Linked DNA regions of Homo sapiens: regions 2, 3, 4 and 5 are each linked to region 1. Evidence: promoter capture Hi-C in 16 types of primary human blood cells and fetal thymus (Javierre and others, 2016). All regions are on one chromosome and are shown on one strand. The core of a region is centred on a gene start or on the middle of the fragment in contact, and the rest is flanking DNA. Distances in the headings are between cores, read along the strand shown. Region 1 holds the start of ACSS3-AS1 (ACSS3 antisense RNA 1). Region 2 overlaps OTOGL (otogelin like). Region 3 has its middle 44 kb from the start of PTPRQ. Region 4 has its middle 21 kb from the start of PTPRQ. Region 5 overlaps PTPRQ (protein tyrosine phosphatase receptor type Q).

Region 1 (2,908 bases), core at 154-2,653:
TAACATAAGAAGCTTCTAGAAATGTAACATTTTTAGACAGTTACAATTTATTAGATACAGCATTGAAATAATTTTCATTGAAGATGATATTATGCTAAGCCAATTTATTTTGAGATATGTCTCTTAAAACCAGGAAAGTTAGAGATGTTATCTAAAAAAGAAAAATCTTTCTTTTAAAGATGAAAACATTACATTTACACTTACAAGTAAAATGTATTATTATTTATCTAAAACACAGAGGAATACTTATTTTATATTTAAGAATCGCATTGTATTAAATTTTTCAAGAACAATTACAAAACGCTATCTTACATTCAAAATAGTTATCTGATAGTGGTCTAGAAAACATTTACTAGCACATTTCTTCTCAAATAATTTTCTTCAAATGAAAGAGTAAATACCATTACTCAGAATTATCATTTTTCTCATTACCAGTTTCTTCACACATGGGTTTCAATCAATATTTAGTCATTTTCAGACTATGTATTCACAAGCAAAGTGAAATAGATAATTATTTAATCCCTTTAGTTCAAGCTCAAAATAATCAGTATTTCAATAATCTTTGCTTTCAAGACTACTGTGATTTTCAGACTGTAATTTCACAGAAAATTAGTTAAATCCTGTATTTCCCTATGTATATGTGCTCAGTCTTGATAAGGAATATTGTCTTCCATTTCCTTGATACTTATGTTAAAATTTACAAGAAAATCATCAGAATTCATCACATCTTGTAAAGCATATTTTGTTAATTTTAAAACAGTATTTCTGTGTAACAGGCCATTGTGGACAGAGAAAATAATTCTACGTCAAGGAGAAGTCCAAGGTCTAAAAGAATGGAAAATGCAATTGATGCCTGTTATTAACACACAACAGGACTAGGGTGCATGCAATAAAAAGGAAAGAAAATACACAGACAAAGAATAATTAAGGATTGCATCCACTTTTTACCATTTTAACATCTCTCCACTATAGACATTAATAATTGGGTAATTGTAACTTTCTCCTGCTTTTACTCACTGGAGAGTTGCTGCCAATATCTCTAATCATCACAGCATGTGCCATTTGGCTGAAAAAGTGAAGGCAGTTTAGTATAGAGAGAGAAAACATTCAGGATGAAGTGGGTTGTGAGATGAACTGGAAAGGCATGAAGAAACAATATTAGACATGATACAGAGTCTTGTTATGCCCATCGAGTTTAGACTAACCCGAAAAACAATGTGTAATAATTGAAAAATGTTCATCCTCTTTAAAAGTAAGTGCTTTCCACATTCTTAAAATGTAATGATTATTGCATAAACTAGAATCATTAATGTAATGATTATTGCATAAACTCGATTATTGCGTAATAGGGGTAAAAATAAATAAGCTTATTTGAGAAATATTAAGAATGGGGCCACAGTTTGGGTTTTAGCAACTGATTGGAAAGTGATGCCATTCACATTGGACACGTTTAAATTTGAGACGCTAGTGGAACAACCATGTATAGACACCTACTCGGCAATCCTGCATATGATCTCAACATCAGAAGAGAGATGTGGGCTGATGACACAGAACTGAGAATAGCCAGCGTTGCCACTGGGAGTAACCATCACATATGTGGCAAAAAAGGCCATTGGCGCAGATATAATCACCCAGGCGGGATGTGTAAAATGGAAAAAGAAGGCAACCTAGAAGCAGGTAGTGAAGGGACAGGCAAAAGAAGCATTTAAGAAGGATAATTAGAATGAACACAGGAAAGAAAGGAAAATGAGGGCAGAATGGTATATAGAAGTTAAGTGAAGACTGGCAGAGAATGGACAAAAATGTTAGACATAATAAAGAGAGGAAGTAAAATATTGAACACCTATTGGAATTAATAAGAAGAAAGCATTAATTACCTTAGCTAAATGAGGCAGTAGCATATTTTAGAGGGTTTTGGTTATGTGTGTGGTAAGGAAATTTAAAAGGCATTTTTCTGAAGTTAATCAGTGAATGAAAATAGATAAGAAACTAGCTAGTAGTAGAAACATTTATGTATTTTTTTTGTTTTGTTTTGTTTTTTTTTTTTGAGACGAAGTCTCGCTCTTCTGCCCAGGCTGGAGTGCGGTGGCGCAATCTCGGCTCACTGCAAGCTCCGCCTCCCGGATTCACGCCATTCTCCTGCCTCAGCCTCCCGAGTAGCTGGGACTACAGGCGCCCACCACCACGCCCGGCTAATTTTTTGTATTTTTAGTAGAGACAGGGTTTCACCGTGTTAGCCAGGATGGTTTCGATCTCCTGACCTCGTGATCTGCCCGCCTCGGCCTCCCAAAGTGCTGGGATTACAGGCGTGAGCCACCAAGCCCGGACAATTTATGCATGCTTTTAAGAGAAAGAGCCAGCAGTGAGATAGGTATAAGATAGATTAACAGAACAAGAGCCCTAAAAAGAATTGATAGAATGGCTCCAGGAGACCAAAGAAAGATTACCTTCTATTTTAAAAGGAGGGAAAGAGAAAACAATGGGTGTGGATACAGGCAAGTCTGTTGGTCTGGTGATAATAAATTTATATAATCATTGCTAGGTTTGAATCAATGTACCCTGTTAAGCTTGAGGCACAGAGGCAGGAAAGCCAAAAGTTTAAAATGGCCTTTGGAGAGTAAAAGAGAAACTTACTCGAGAAATGCTAAAGAAAAAAAGAAAATGCAGCATTGAAGTCCCAGTGGACACTGGATACCATAAATTTATATTAAATCTATATTTGTAGTTACGTGATTTTTCTTTAACAGGATTCAACGTATCAGATACAGTAATGAAGACAATAAGAAATTGGATTGATCCAGGTCTGGAGTTTTGCCACAGAGTGAAATGGAACAACAATATGCAGGAGAAGTGAGGATACTGGTAAGAGACGAGTTGTGTGGTTAAACTAAAAAACCTAACCCGGATA
Region 2 (2,908 bases), core at 171-2,670, 810 kb after region 1:
CTTTTTTGGATTTTGCAAATAAGTGAAATCATATGGTATTTGTCTCACTGTGCCTGACTTACTTCACTTAGCATAATGTTCTCTAGGTTCATCCGTGTTGTTGCAAATGATAGAATTTCTTGGTTTTTAAAGAATGAATAGCTAAAAGAAAGAATTTCAAATGTTCTTACCACAAAGCAATGGTAAATATTTGAGGTGATGGATATGCTAATTGGCCTGATTTGATCATTCCACAATGTGTACATGTATCAAAACACTACATTGTACCCCATAAATATATACAATTATATTTGTCAATTTAAAAATAAGATAAAATTTTAAAAAACATTTGAACAATGTTTACATTTATAAATAATGGTAAAGGTATGCATTTGTTATAGATCTTTCATCCTTTTTATCTAAAAAATTAACTAACTTCACCCACCCATTCATTCATGTCATTCCAAAACTGTACTGAGGGCCTCTTAAATTCTGAGAACTTAAGTTACACACTATTTTAGTTTTCAGGAAATAAATCTTAACACAAATACTGAGAAATTTTTGAAAATTTTAAAAATTAAAAGCTTTTATGGAGTTATATAGTTATGAACTATTTATAGTTTGTTCACAGCATAAGTTGTTCAAAAATTTTTAATATGAAAATACACCTAATAGAATACTATAGTGATATTTTTAATTTGAATGTCACATACCTTCATTGTAGTATTCACAATCAAGTGCTAAAAGAAAAAAAGAATAAATATTAAACTATGTAAGAAGTCAATCACTTATCTGAATGTGGGCAAGATATGGCCACATATTTATCAATAACTATGTGAAAGAATATAAAATGGTATTATTTAGGAACTTTTTCTGAGCAAAGAAGATTCTTTAAGCGATATGCTGTAATTAATTAAATTTCATATAATTGTTTTAAAGTAGGAAAATATATTGCCAATTTAGAAACCTCAGCTGAAAGTGTTCAAATTGTAAGTTTGTTCAGATATCTTACCACCTACACAAGTAAATTAAAAGCTTAAAGAGTCAAATCTGAAAGCAAATTCAAGGTGATTTTTTTAAAATATATTTATCATCAGAACGATGAAACTTCATAGGCATAAAAGAAATAAAGTCATAAACAATTTCTCTAAGGATGGTATTTAAATAATTTATATTTCAAATGGTACAATGACAGCAATAAAACACAGAACAAAATATTATCTCACAATTTATTTTTATAAGTCCTTTCGGTATTCTATAATTTATGATTGTCAAAGGAATATAAAATTTAGTCATTTTAATTTAATTCTATTCCCATGAGTCTCCTGGCATTATTTCTAAGCTAAATCAACAATTAATATGTATCTCTTTATCAGTTCTCTACATAATGATGTTCTAAGTAGGGTACTTACAACAAACAGTAGATGATCTCCAATGAATTGATATTCCTTCCTGACAACACTTGTATGCATATGCAGCTATACTAGTGCACAAACACTCACAGTCGCCACCAAGATTGCAGTTACATGTATCTTCATGACAATTTTTGGCAAAAGAAGTAACGTCAATCTGAAAAATGAGGTGAAAGATTACTTAATTTCAATAGATACTGATTATGATTTAAAGTCAACCGTCTAAAAAACTATGTGTTTTCAAAGTTTGATATTATCAGCTTAACACTGCCACCTAGAGAGTTCTCTTTATTTAAAGCCTCTTTATTGCCCAAAGGAGAAAGAAATGTATTAGGAAAATGTCACATCAAAGAACTAGCAAAAGAAATAATAAGATTAATAAATATATATGACTTCAACATCTGCAATATAACAGATTAATTTTTGGAAGCTTCTGTCATTATTGATGTAATCACATGACATTAAAATAAGGGCACCTTCTGCTTCCAATTGTAATTTTATATAATTTCGTATCTTTCTTCCTTCTTTCCTTTCTTTTTTGCCCCTGCTCATGCAACATCCTAATGGCTATTAATGGTAATAGCAATCTTTAAAAACAACTTATTCTATTTACTTAATTTATTTATTTGCATTACATTTAAGTAGCTGACAAAATTTAATATATTGACAGTGCATTAAAAAAGGAGCAAGGGACTCAAGAGGCTGAGGCAGGAGAATCACTTGAACCCGGGAGGCGGAGGTTGCAGTGAGCTGAGATCGCACCACTGCACTCCAGCCTGAGCGACAGAGACTCTGTCTCAAATAAAAAAAAAGAAGAAGAAGAAGAAAAGAAGCAGGATTTGCTGTCACTGAGCTGTATTTTATTTTTTAGGTCAGTTCATGGGTTAATTTTTCTTTTCAAGTGGAAAAGAACCAGCAGGCTCTGTGGTTCAGGACTCCAGACTTGACACAATATTCCTTGTCAAGCAGGTGTGGTCCTTGGAAACTCTGAAAAGTCTCAAAAGCAACCCTTTTTATAAACAAGACTTTAGTCTACCTATGTGGCTCTAATATGGCAGTCCTCAAACTTTTCTGTCTCAGAATCCCTTTACACTCTTAAAAAATCACTGAGATCCCCAAAGAGGTTTTGTTTATGGGATTATATCTACCAATATTTACTCTATTAGACATTAAAAATGAGACATTTAAAAATAACAATAAACCCTATATGTTTACATGAATAACATGATTTTATTGAAAAATATTTATATATGCTAAGAAATAGTGAAAAGAGTGCACTGTTTTACATTTTTGCAAATCTCTTTAATGTGTGGCTTAATAGCACACTGGGGGATTCTCATATCTGCTTCTTCATCCGGTCTATCGTAATGTTTTTGTCTTGTTTGGGTTTGGATTGACATAGATGAAGAAAATTCGGTTCCATGCATATATTTAGTTGGAAAGGAAGGAGTACTTTAATATCTTTTTCAGGTAATTGTGATATTCTTTGACACTATATCAAAACTCAAAAAATATCA
Region 3 (2,908 bases), core at 151-2,650, 730 kb after region 1:
TGAATTATCAGGCAATTACACAAAATTACATTGTGTTGTGTGAAATTATTTAACCTCAATTAATGGAAATCTAGAACACCTATGCAACTGCTGCTTCTTTGGAACTAATTCCTCACATTTTAAAATTACACCATCATCATGAAAAATATTTCAAAATACATGAAACTGAAACTTAAATAGAAACAACGTTCAATAGTCGTTTCAACTCAATTTATTTTTAAAATATATTCATCTAAAAAGCTTGCCTAGCCTTTCATAGGAACGTGGAGCCCCCAAGGACCTAAAAACTTTTGTATTCAACTTAAGATACAAAGAAAAAAAACCTGTATTTTGTATATGTTTTTAAAACTGAAAATACCATTTTAATAGTAAACAGTTCCCCAGGATCAAATTTAAAGCTCCTGAAAGCTCACTGTAAAGCAAGTTTATTCCTACAGAATCCTCTTTAGGTCTTCTTAAGCAGGAGTTTAGCTCAGATAAAATGCAACCCAGTCAAAAAGAAATGCCTAATAGTTAAATCCAGACCCTTCCACAAAACTGCAAAGCTTTAACTTTGCCCATTTTCCCAAGCAACCTGATGTAAGTGTTCTAGGGCTATGGTATTAATTTCCCCCCTAAATCTAAGCGTAAACTATAATTTTGAAGGCTGTGTACCATAATACAAATGCGAAAGTGGAAAGCTCCAGGATGCCCGCTCTTTAAGTCCAAACCCCCACTCAAATTCAATTCTGTGAGTCACTGTGTTTGCCCTGGGAGTGTGTAAAGAGCCCCTGTCCTAATGCACACTATTTTAGAGTCAAAAAGCACCAACTTTTGAAACAGGGAGAGAGAGGCAGAGTATAAACGAAAAGATTGAGGTTTAAAGAATGGTTAGACTGGTGGAGAAAGAAGGAAAGAGCTGAGACCTGGAAGACAGTCAAAGTGCAGAGGATGCAAGGCTGAGAAGTCGCAGGAGCCACGGCACCCCTGCAATCCGCCCTGACCCCCATCTGGACCCGGACCCGGACCTGCAGCCGCGCGGCGCCTGTGCTTTGCAAGTTTCGGGTGCCAGGGCAACTGGCCCGGAGGTGCTGGCACTGCTCTGGGTGCGGCGGCCCAAGCTGCCCACGATTCCTGGGTCACAGCCCACCTCGCAGCCTGCCTCCCTTTAGTCTCCTTCTCTCGCTCTGCTCCAGCTCTTGCTGCAGCTGCTCTGGCGGCTTTCATTTGGGCCAGCGATGCCCTCTCCCTGCGTTGGGTTAATTAAGCGAATGTTTCCATGGAGACAGGAAGCCTTGGGAAGGGAGAGGAGTGGGAGGCAAGTCCCAAAACATTGAAATGTGGAGGAGAATTGCATTCTGCATAGAAGAAGGGAGGAAAGGGAAGGGCGATGAAGGAGAACGCGAGGTGGGACACATTGGTATCTCATTTAAAAACAAAACAAAACAAAAAGCAGAAGTCGACTATATGGCTGTGAATAGCCCAGTTTTGGCTTAAGATCAAATATGTGGCTTTGTATGAAGCCACACTCCTTGTTAACGTGTGTGTGTGCCTGTGTGTGTGTGTGTGTTCTCTGCGGCATTTGAGAATGTTGATTGAACCCCGAGATCTCAGCTTCCCTGACATCTCCCTCCCCTCTTGCTTCCATTTGCTTAGTCTGCGTCACTGTGTCCTCCAACACTGCCAACTCAAAAACTGAGTTGACCCGTTGTGCCTTCCTTGACTGTGGAATACTTCATTCACTCTTGTGATTCTACCATATTCAAGATCTTCGATCACTCCATCTTGAATTTCATGTCTTTCCAGGGCTTCAGAGAAGTATTTATAGCTCCAAAATGGGCATCTCCATCTGGATGTCCCTATAAACGATTCAAAACCATATTTTCAAACCTAAATTTATAAACTCCTTTTCCAGCTCTTCCTGAGGAAAAGATCCTTCACCCAAACAACCAAAGGAAAATCACTACCTCTTCATCCTCAGATCCTTTTCTCACCATCCAGTGCCACTTTATCCTGCAAATCCCTTTGATTCCATTCCTAAACTGCCTCTTAAGCTGATTAATTCTTCATTATTACCACTGTTACAGACTTAATTGAAAACTTTAAATCTCTCTCTCTCACACACACACACACACACACACGTGCGCGATCTCACTTTTGCTCTGTCTGGAAAACATGTATCATGTTAAGACTTTGTACCTCAGTGCAGATCCTGTGGCTCCCTTTACTAGCTAAGCAGCTCTTTGAAAATTTGGCTGTGGTGAAGAGTAAGCTTGAAGAGTGCTTAGTAGAGTGTAAAAACTTAATTGAAAGACAACCAACATTAGTTCACTGCAGCTACTGCTAATACACTAACACTTGGATTATGTCTCCATGTTTGATACTCCCAATCTCTCTTACATACTACTAGCCAGTGTGATCTTTCTGAAATACACACATGATACTATATAATCATGCATGGAGGGTACTTAAAAGCCTGTTGTGACTTTTTGTTGTCTATAATGTACCTCTCACCAAATTCACTTTTCAACCTCATCTCTCTCCTCTCCTCCTTGGCACCCTGACTTATATGTACCCTCAATGAAGTAACAGGCCATAAACATTTACATGTCTGTTTTCCTGTAGATCTTTGTTTATACTGTAGCACGAAAATTTACTTTTTATACATTTATGTACTCAGCTAGATTAGGAACTCCATGATGGCAAGGATTCAAGCACAGTTATAGGTGTGAACTATATTTGTTTTGTTTTAATTCCTGGGGATTCTGCATATCTTTTGAGTCTTTAAAAGTAGAAGGTATTGGCCAAGCATGGTGGCTCATGCCTGTAATCCCAGCGCTTTAAGAGGCCAAGAGAGGTGGATTGCTTGAGCCCAGGAGTTGAAGACCAACTTGGGTAACATGGAGAAACTCCGTCTCTACAAACCCAT
Region 4 (2,908 bases), core at 281-2,780, 700 kb after region 1:
TCCAGAAGACTTCTAGCTGAAGGCCAGCTAACAGTTACTGCATTTGGGTCTCTGCTATGTTTCATAAATTCAGCTGCACTTGGGGCTATATCATTTAAGACAGACAGTAAGATAACATTTTCCATAGCACAAAGCACCTGCCAGCCCTGAACCGCCCTCAGGAATTGACTCTATGCAAACCCTGAGGGTAACCAAGGCACTCCTTTTTCTTAAAATTTAATTTGATTTAATTTAATTTTAAGTTCCAGGATACAGGGGCAGGACGTGCAGGTTTGTTACATAGGTAAACATGTGTCATGGTGGTTTGCTGCACGTATCAACCCATCACCTAAGTATCAAGCCCCACAAGTATTATTTATCCTGATGCTCTCCCTCCCCGACCTCCGTGACAGGCCCCAGTGTGTGTTGTTCCCCTCCCTGTCTCCATGTGTGCTGATTATTCAGCTCCCACTTATAAGTGAGAACATTCACTGTTTGGTTTTCTGTTGCTGTGTTAGTTTGCTGAGGATAATCGCTTCCTTTTATTCTACCTGCTAGATATGAGAAGTTAAAAGTATTGTTTAAAAACAGCCAGAATTATTTTAAACTTTGAAATAAAATACATGTGTGCTTTAAGTGTACAAAATGTGTCCCAGTAGCATTGTACTCAAAATGTCCCTGGCCTCTAAAATGCAGGAAGTAGATCATACCTTAGTCTTGTGTAACCACTGACTTCAGAAATATTTAATTATTTTTAGGACTCATCCTAATTAAATACCAAGGAGTGCCAAGTCTAATTAGCAGGAAAGTTAATTGCAATCTGAATATGAAATGCCTCCCTTCTTTCCTGAGGAAAAAAAGTTAAATTAAATAGTGTATAATGGGCATATTGTTTTCTCTTTAAAATTCTCCCATATATGAGAAAGGAATCAAATTGTGAAGATATTCTCTCAATCTCATTCTTTCTTATTACATTAAAAGAATACCAGACATGGCCAGGTTCTAAATATATAAATCAATGTACCCATTGCATCAACGTCAAGAATAACTAAAATAGTTTAGTAGAATAGTTGACAATTTTACTTTACTAGATACGACAGCTTATACAGTTGCATGCATCCTTCCCAGTCATCCTTTATTTCATATGATTACCATGGGATATATCACCATCTGCCTTTGGGAATAAAATGTTTACACTGGCAAGGTGGCACTTCATTGGAAAATGGGGTAATTAAATCACAAATGGAAACTCTGGCCAGACCATAAGCAGTTAGCAATGCTACCATCTGACAATACATACTTAAAAGGATGTTGTGATAACCCATACCAAGGAAAAAGAAAAAGATACAAGAGACAATGCCCATAAAGAAAACCTGGGAGGAATGAAGTACTTACTAATCTTCCCTTAAAGGACCAAGGAAATATCTGAACATGAAAGAAACTCCTAAGGTGCCTACATAGGCGGTAACCTGTCTGTATTTCTTTTATGTTAGCAGTAATGTCTTTAAAACCTTCTTTTTCAGCCCGAATAGAAAAGGTGTACACTGTGGCAGGATCCAGGTTAGAGAATATTGCTGTTTCTTGAACTACCTTCTGAACCTATCAATCCAAAAGAATACATTATCAAGTATGTGTTTAAGAAAAGCTCCACAACTGAATACAATTGGGAATTATTTAGTTTCACTACTATCCAATGTAAGAATGCAGTAATGTTGGTTTCAGCATGAAACATTCAAGTTTAATTCCTCTAAGAGCCCTTTATAACGTACCATGAAAGCAGCAGCATAGTTTATGCATGTGATTTCATAATGCTGGAAATTCCCATCAACTCGATTCCAGAGAATGTCTATAGAAGAATCTGTAACTTTGCCTTCATGGATATTCAGTGGTGCTTCCAGACCTATCCAAACACACAACAAACTTAAATTCCTCTTGGAAATTTCCTAATTGTTTTTTTTAACTTATCCCTTAAAAGGGAATAAAAAACATAATAATGTCAAAAAGAACAATAGTTTATTAATTAATCTATGCCTCTATCCTAATTAAAAATAGTTGTTTACACATTCAATGACAGTTTATAAAATACGGTAATCAGTTCCAATACTGAAAGCCATTGCAAACACCATCACATACAGCTAATTTTGGTGCTGCAGCAAAAAACCACACAGGAACAAATTCACTGAAGAAAATACACAATATTCAAGGAAACAAAAAGATTAAAACTATTAGCATAAGCTGAAAAGACAACAGAGAAAGAAATATGAATTTTAGACAAGTAAGTGAAAGAATCCCCTTTGTATCAAATATTTGCTGAAGCTAAAAATAAATTGTATCTGATGAGTGTTAATGTTTCTTTTTCCCATTTTGAAGATTTAATCTAGCATAAGAAAAAATTATTTCAGAAAATGGGGAAAATGGCAGCTTTAAACTATCATCTTATATATTGATTTATTTTGCTGATTGATATCACAATATTGATGTATTTAGATAATCATGTAGTAATTTTGTTTAAAGACAATAACTGCCAAATATAAAGACTGTAGCCCATAATGATTTATAAAGTAATGAAGACAGGCAGAGAATACAGATATAAAAAGTACATAGAAATTGAAAGCAAAAATAAAATATAAATAGGTATTGAAATGATTATAAATATGCTAAAATGCTGTCAAAGTAATGTGATTTCTGACATCAGTTTGAGAGTATTTTATAGACAAGTTGAATTTCAACGGAAATGGAAATGTTACAATTTGTGAGGGAAAAGATACATGGTAGCCTAATGACCTAGGTGGATATATATAGAGACAGGAAGAGCAAATAATGAGGGCACTGGACATGTTATAAGTCAGAATTACGTTTTTAGGACTCCATGTGATTTTGGTTTGTATGGCATTTATTACTCTTCATCATTAATTTCGACATATACTGG
Region 5 (2,908 bases), core at 147-2,646, 630 kb after region 1:
ATGATAGTAAAAAAGGGAAGTTACCTTGAATCTGCCAAAAGACTATTGTTTGGCATATAAAGCTTTAATGTATGCAGACAAATTTTAAAATGTTATTCATTAATACAAATAAATTTATGGGGGTCTACACAAAATTTTGGTCAACATCTAAGTTATTATCCACTCATGGTTGTTGCCCCAAATCAGACAAGGTGTTTTGTTAAAGGCTTACAGTAAAGATGGTTGTGTCTTAAAAAGGAAAGGGAATATGTATAGATCATCAAAAGAGTAATTTGTATGGGAACTTCTCAAAGTTGTATTTATGATTATTACACCCTAAGTATGAGAAAATAAAAACTAATCTTAGGCTTATTGGAAAACTGCACATCTATGATTAAAACACACACAAACACACACAGAGATACACACACACACACACAGAATCAATCTTGTATTGATCTTTCCTGCTTGAACACAAGGGTGTTTTACTTCCAAGCATTAGTAAACTCTATTTCTCTTAAAAAGATAAGGCATTTAACCAAATAACTTACTCCTATTTTTAATTAGTAATATTAACACATCACTGAGTTAACACATCACTCAATTTCTCATGAAACAATATTGAAGAGTGGGCCCATATTTTTTTACATGAATAGAAGGTATAATTACTGTATTTAATAAGATTATTTTGGGCCTAAACCCAGAAAAATAGTTGCTCTTGAGCTCATCTTGCTTCAAATGACACTTGAGACCCTACCTAACATTTTAGCTTCCTCTTTTGCCAAAGGAGCTAAAGTGGGTGGTTTAACAGTAGCAAACATAATCTAGGAAAAGTCACTAATGTAGATTCCATTGTCTTCCATTTTCATCCAGGTGGAAAATGCACAGAACTTGAGACTACCCTAACTTAGGACAGAGAACCAGATATTAGGAAGATGGGCATTAAACCCTATACTCTGATTGTTAGGCCTGGCTAGGAAGCCATGGGATATGTTGGTTTCCCCTTCTCTTTATTTTTTTAGCCATCTCAGGAGCCTATTAAGTGAGGCCTGTAATGGGGGTCAGGAGGCCTATAGTCAAGCCCCAATTTACTTCTCATGTACTATAACTTGTGAGTCCTTTTACCCAAATGGTCCTAGGTCTTCTCACCTAAAAAATAAAGGGCTCTGCATGTTTTCTAAGACACTTTCCAAAATTAAAATTCTCATTTTAAACTAAATCTCAAAATTTATATTCACTTAAAGTTTATTGTCCCTGCCTTTGAATTAAACTCATACAGACAATAAAACAGAAAATAAAATTACATTTTCAATACTAAGTAAAAGATTATGTGCATGTAATAATCAGAAAACAAAAACATTGCTTTATAATTCATCATTAAAATAAGGTGTTCTTGATGCTATGGCCACTTAAACGAAATACTTGATAAGCATTCATAAAAATGGTTATTATTTCATATCACAATAGAATCTTTCAAAGTTATTACTTTCCTCCCCATGCTGAGCAGAAGCCTAATGACAAAATATCAGTGTAACAATGAACAGAGAGATCTTAGATATAGTTTATAATTTACCAGCTTTGTTGATTACTTCAAAAACAGCATGTGCTGTGAAAGGGAAATGGGTTTTACAGTCAGATGGGTTTGGATTCTAATTCCAGCTCATCACTTTCCAGCTGATCACTTTCCAGCTGGTGCCATTAGGCAATGAAACACCCACCAACTAATAAAACTTAAGGAGGGAAGGAAATCCTTTTCTTCTACACTACTTTATCCCCAGTAAGGCCTGGTATATTATAAATATTTTTTGAATGAATGAACCTCTCAAACCCTCCATTTTTCGTTAGACTTAGTTTTCTGTGAAGATAACAATAATGTATTGCTTTAGTTTAGAATTTTTAAAAGACAGTTTCTGTGAAACCTATCAACAGGGCCCGTGACCCTTAATAGGTGCTAAAAATATGCTTGTTTCATTTCCTTAATCCACTGCAAAATAAAACTGAGTCATTAAAGAGCAGACATTTTTCTCAAAAATACTTATTTCAGGTACAATATCTACAAAAGCAATGAAACATGCCAATATATGGATTAATATCAATTAAGTGTCACTTCAAGGCTCTTGATAATGTAAAATGCTCCTTTCATTACTTTCTTATTCCTGCACTTTCAACTACTGCCATTATCTATGGGCTCTTTTGTATCATCTCATTGTATTCATTTCTGTGAATAGTCTCAACAGGATCCTTTTCTACAAAAGTAAGCTACTTTACTAGATTTCTAGATCCTCAAGGTCAAGACAGAAATTCGTATATAGTATCTGGCTGAACTATATGAAATTGCTGATATTTGGCCATTTGTGACCTATAAAAATTATTTCATGTGGTTCCACCAGTATCTAGTCAGTAAATATTTATTGTTTTAAACGTACAATTAAAATAGTAACTTTATATTTAGTTATTAATTCTCAAAATACATTGTAGAATTGGCCTAATAGTTATGCCACCAATATATAATTATAACACAATATAAACAACAAAATAAGATTAACAGACAAACTGTCTTACTCTAGTTTCACCGAAACTAAAACACAAGTAATTCCTTGCTTGTTTTACTTCCTTTAGATGGGATATCCTCTCCCAACCCATCCAGCAACCTCTATAACAGGGGTCCCCAATCCCAGCGCCACGGACTAGTACCAGCTGGTGGCCTGTTAGGAACTGGGCCACACAGCAGGTGAGCATCATAAAGCTTCTGTATTTACAGCCACTCCCTATCGCCTGAATTACTGCCTGAGCTCTGCCTCCTGTCAGATCAGTGTCGACATTAGATTTTCATTGGAGCGCAAACTCTATTGTGAATTGCCCATGCAAGGGATCTATGTTGTGTGCTTCTTATGAGAATTTAATGCCTGATGATCTGTCATTGTCTCCC

What was found. Contacts are between HindIII fragments. The CHiCAGO score rates a contact against its expected background, and 5 or more counts as called.
Region 2: a contact is called between a fragment that was not itself captured here and the fragment with the promoter of ACSS3-AS1 in region 1, in 1 of 17 cell types (endothelial precursors). The highest score is 5.8, in endothelial precursors.
Region 3: a contact is called between a fragment that was not itself captured here and the fragment with the promoter of ACSS3-AS1 in region 1, in 2 of 17 cell types (M0 macrophages and M2 macrophages). The highest score is 8.8, in M0 macrophages.
Region 4: a fragment that was not itself captured here is called in contact with the fragment with the promoter of ACSS3-AS1 in region 1 in 3 of 17 cell types (M1 macrophages, M0 macrophages and erythroblasts); the score reaches 6.7 in M1 macrophages.
Region 5: a fragment that was not itself captured here is called in contact with the fragment with the promoter of ACSS3-AS1 in region 1 in 1 of 17 cell types (M2 macrophages); the score reaches 5.6 in M2 macrophages.

Annotation. Positions count from the first base shown.
Region 1 is chr12:81,124,353-81,127,260 of GRCh38, reverse strand. It overlaps ACSS3-AS1 (ACSS3 antisense RNA 1), which reads left to right and starts at 1,403. Exons shown (of 5, transcript XR_007063390.1): 1 at 1,403-1,677; 2 at 2,748-2,862. All of the region lies in intron 2 of ACSS3 (acyl-CoA synthetase short chain family member 3), which reads right to left. The HindIII fragment of the contact is 1,201 bases long and covers 1,369-2,569 here.
Region 2 is chr12:80,312,116-80,315,023 of GRCh38, reverse strand. OTOGL (otogelin like) reads right to left here. Exons shown (of 59, transcript NM_001378609.3): 31 at 1,392-1,548; 32 at 693-719. Among named protein-coding and RNA genes, the nearest start is that of PTPRQ, 130 kb to the left of the region's middle. The HindIII fragment of the contact is 807 bases long and covers 1,017-1,823 here.
Region 3 is chr12:80,398,984-80,401,891 of GRCh38, reverse strand. No RefSeq gene overlaps it. Among named protein-coding and RNA genes, the nearest start is that of PTPRQ, 44 kb to the left of the region's middle. The HindIII fragment of the contact is 1,706 bases long and covers 548-2,253 here.
Region 4 is chr12:80,421,615-80,424,522 of GRCh38, reverse strand. No RefSeq gene overlaps it. Among named protein-coding and RNA genes, the nearest start is that of PTPRQ, 21 kb to the left of the region's middle. The HindIII fragment of the contact is 3,115 bases long and covers 1-2,908 here.
Region 5 is chr12:80,497,278-80,500,185 of GRCh38, reverse strand. The region is part of intron 14 of PTPRQ (protein tyrosine phosphatase receptor type Q); the gene reads right to left. LOC124902975 (a long non-coding RNA gene) reads left to right here. Exons shown (of 3, transcript XR_007063389.1): 2 at 2,599-2,710. Among named protein-coding and RNA genes, the nearest start is that of PTPRQ, 54 kb to the right of the region's middle. The HindIII fragment of the contact is 2,663 bases long and covers 65-2,727 here.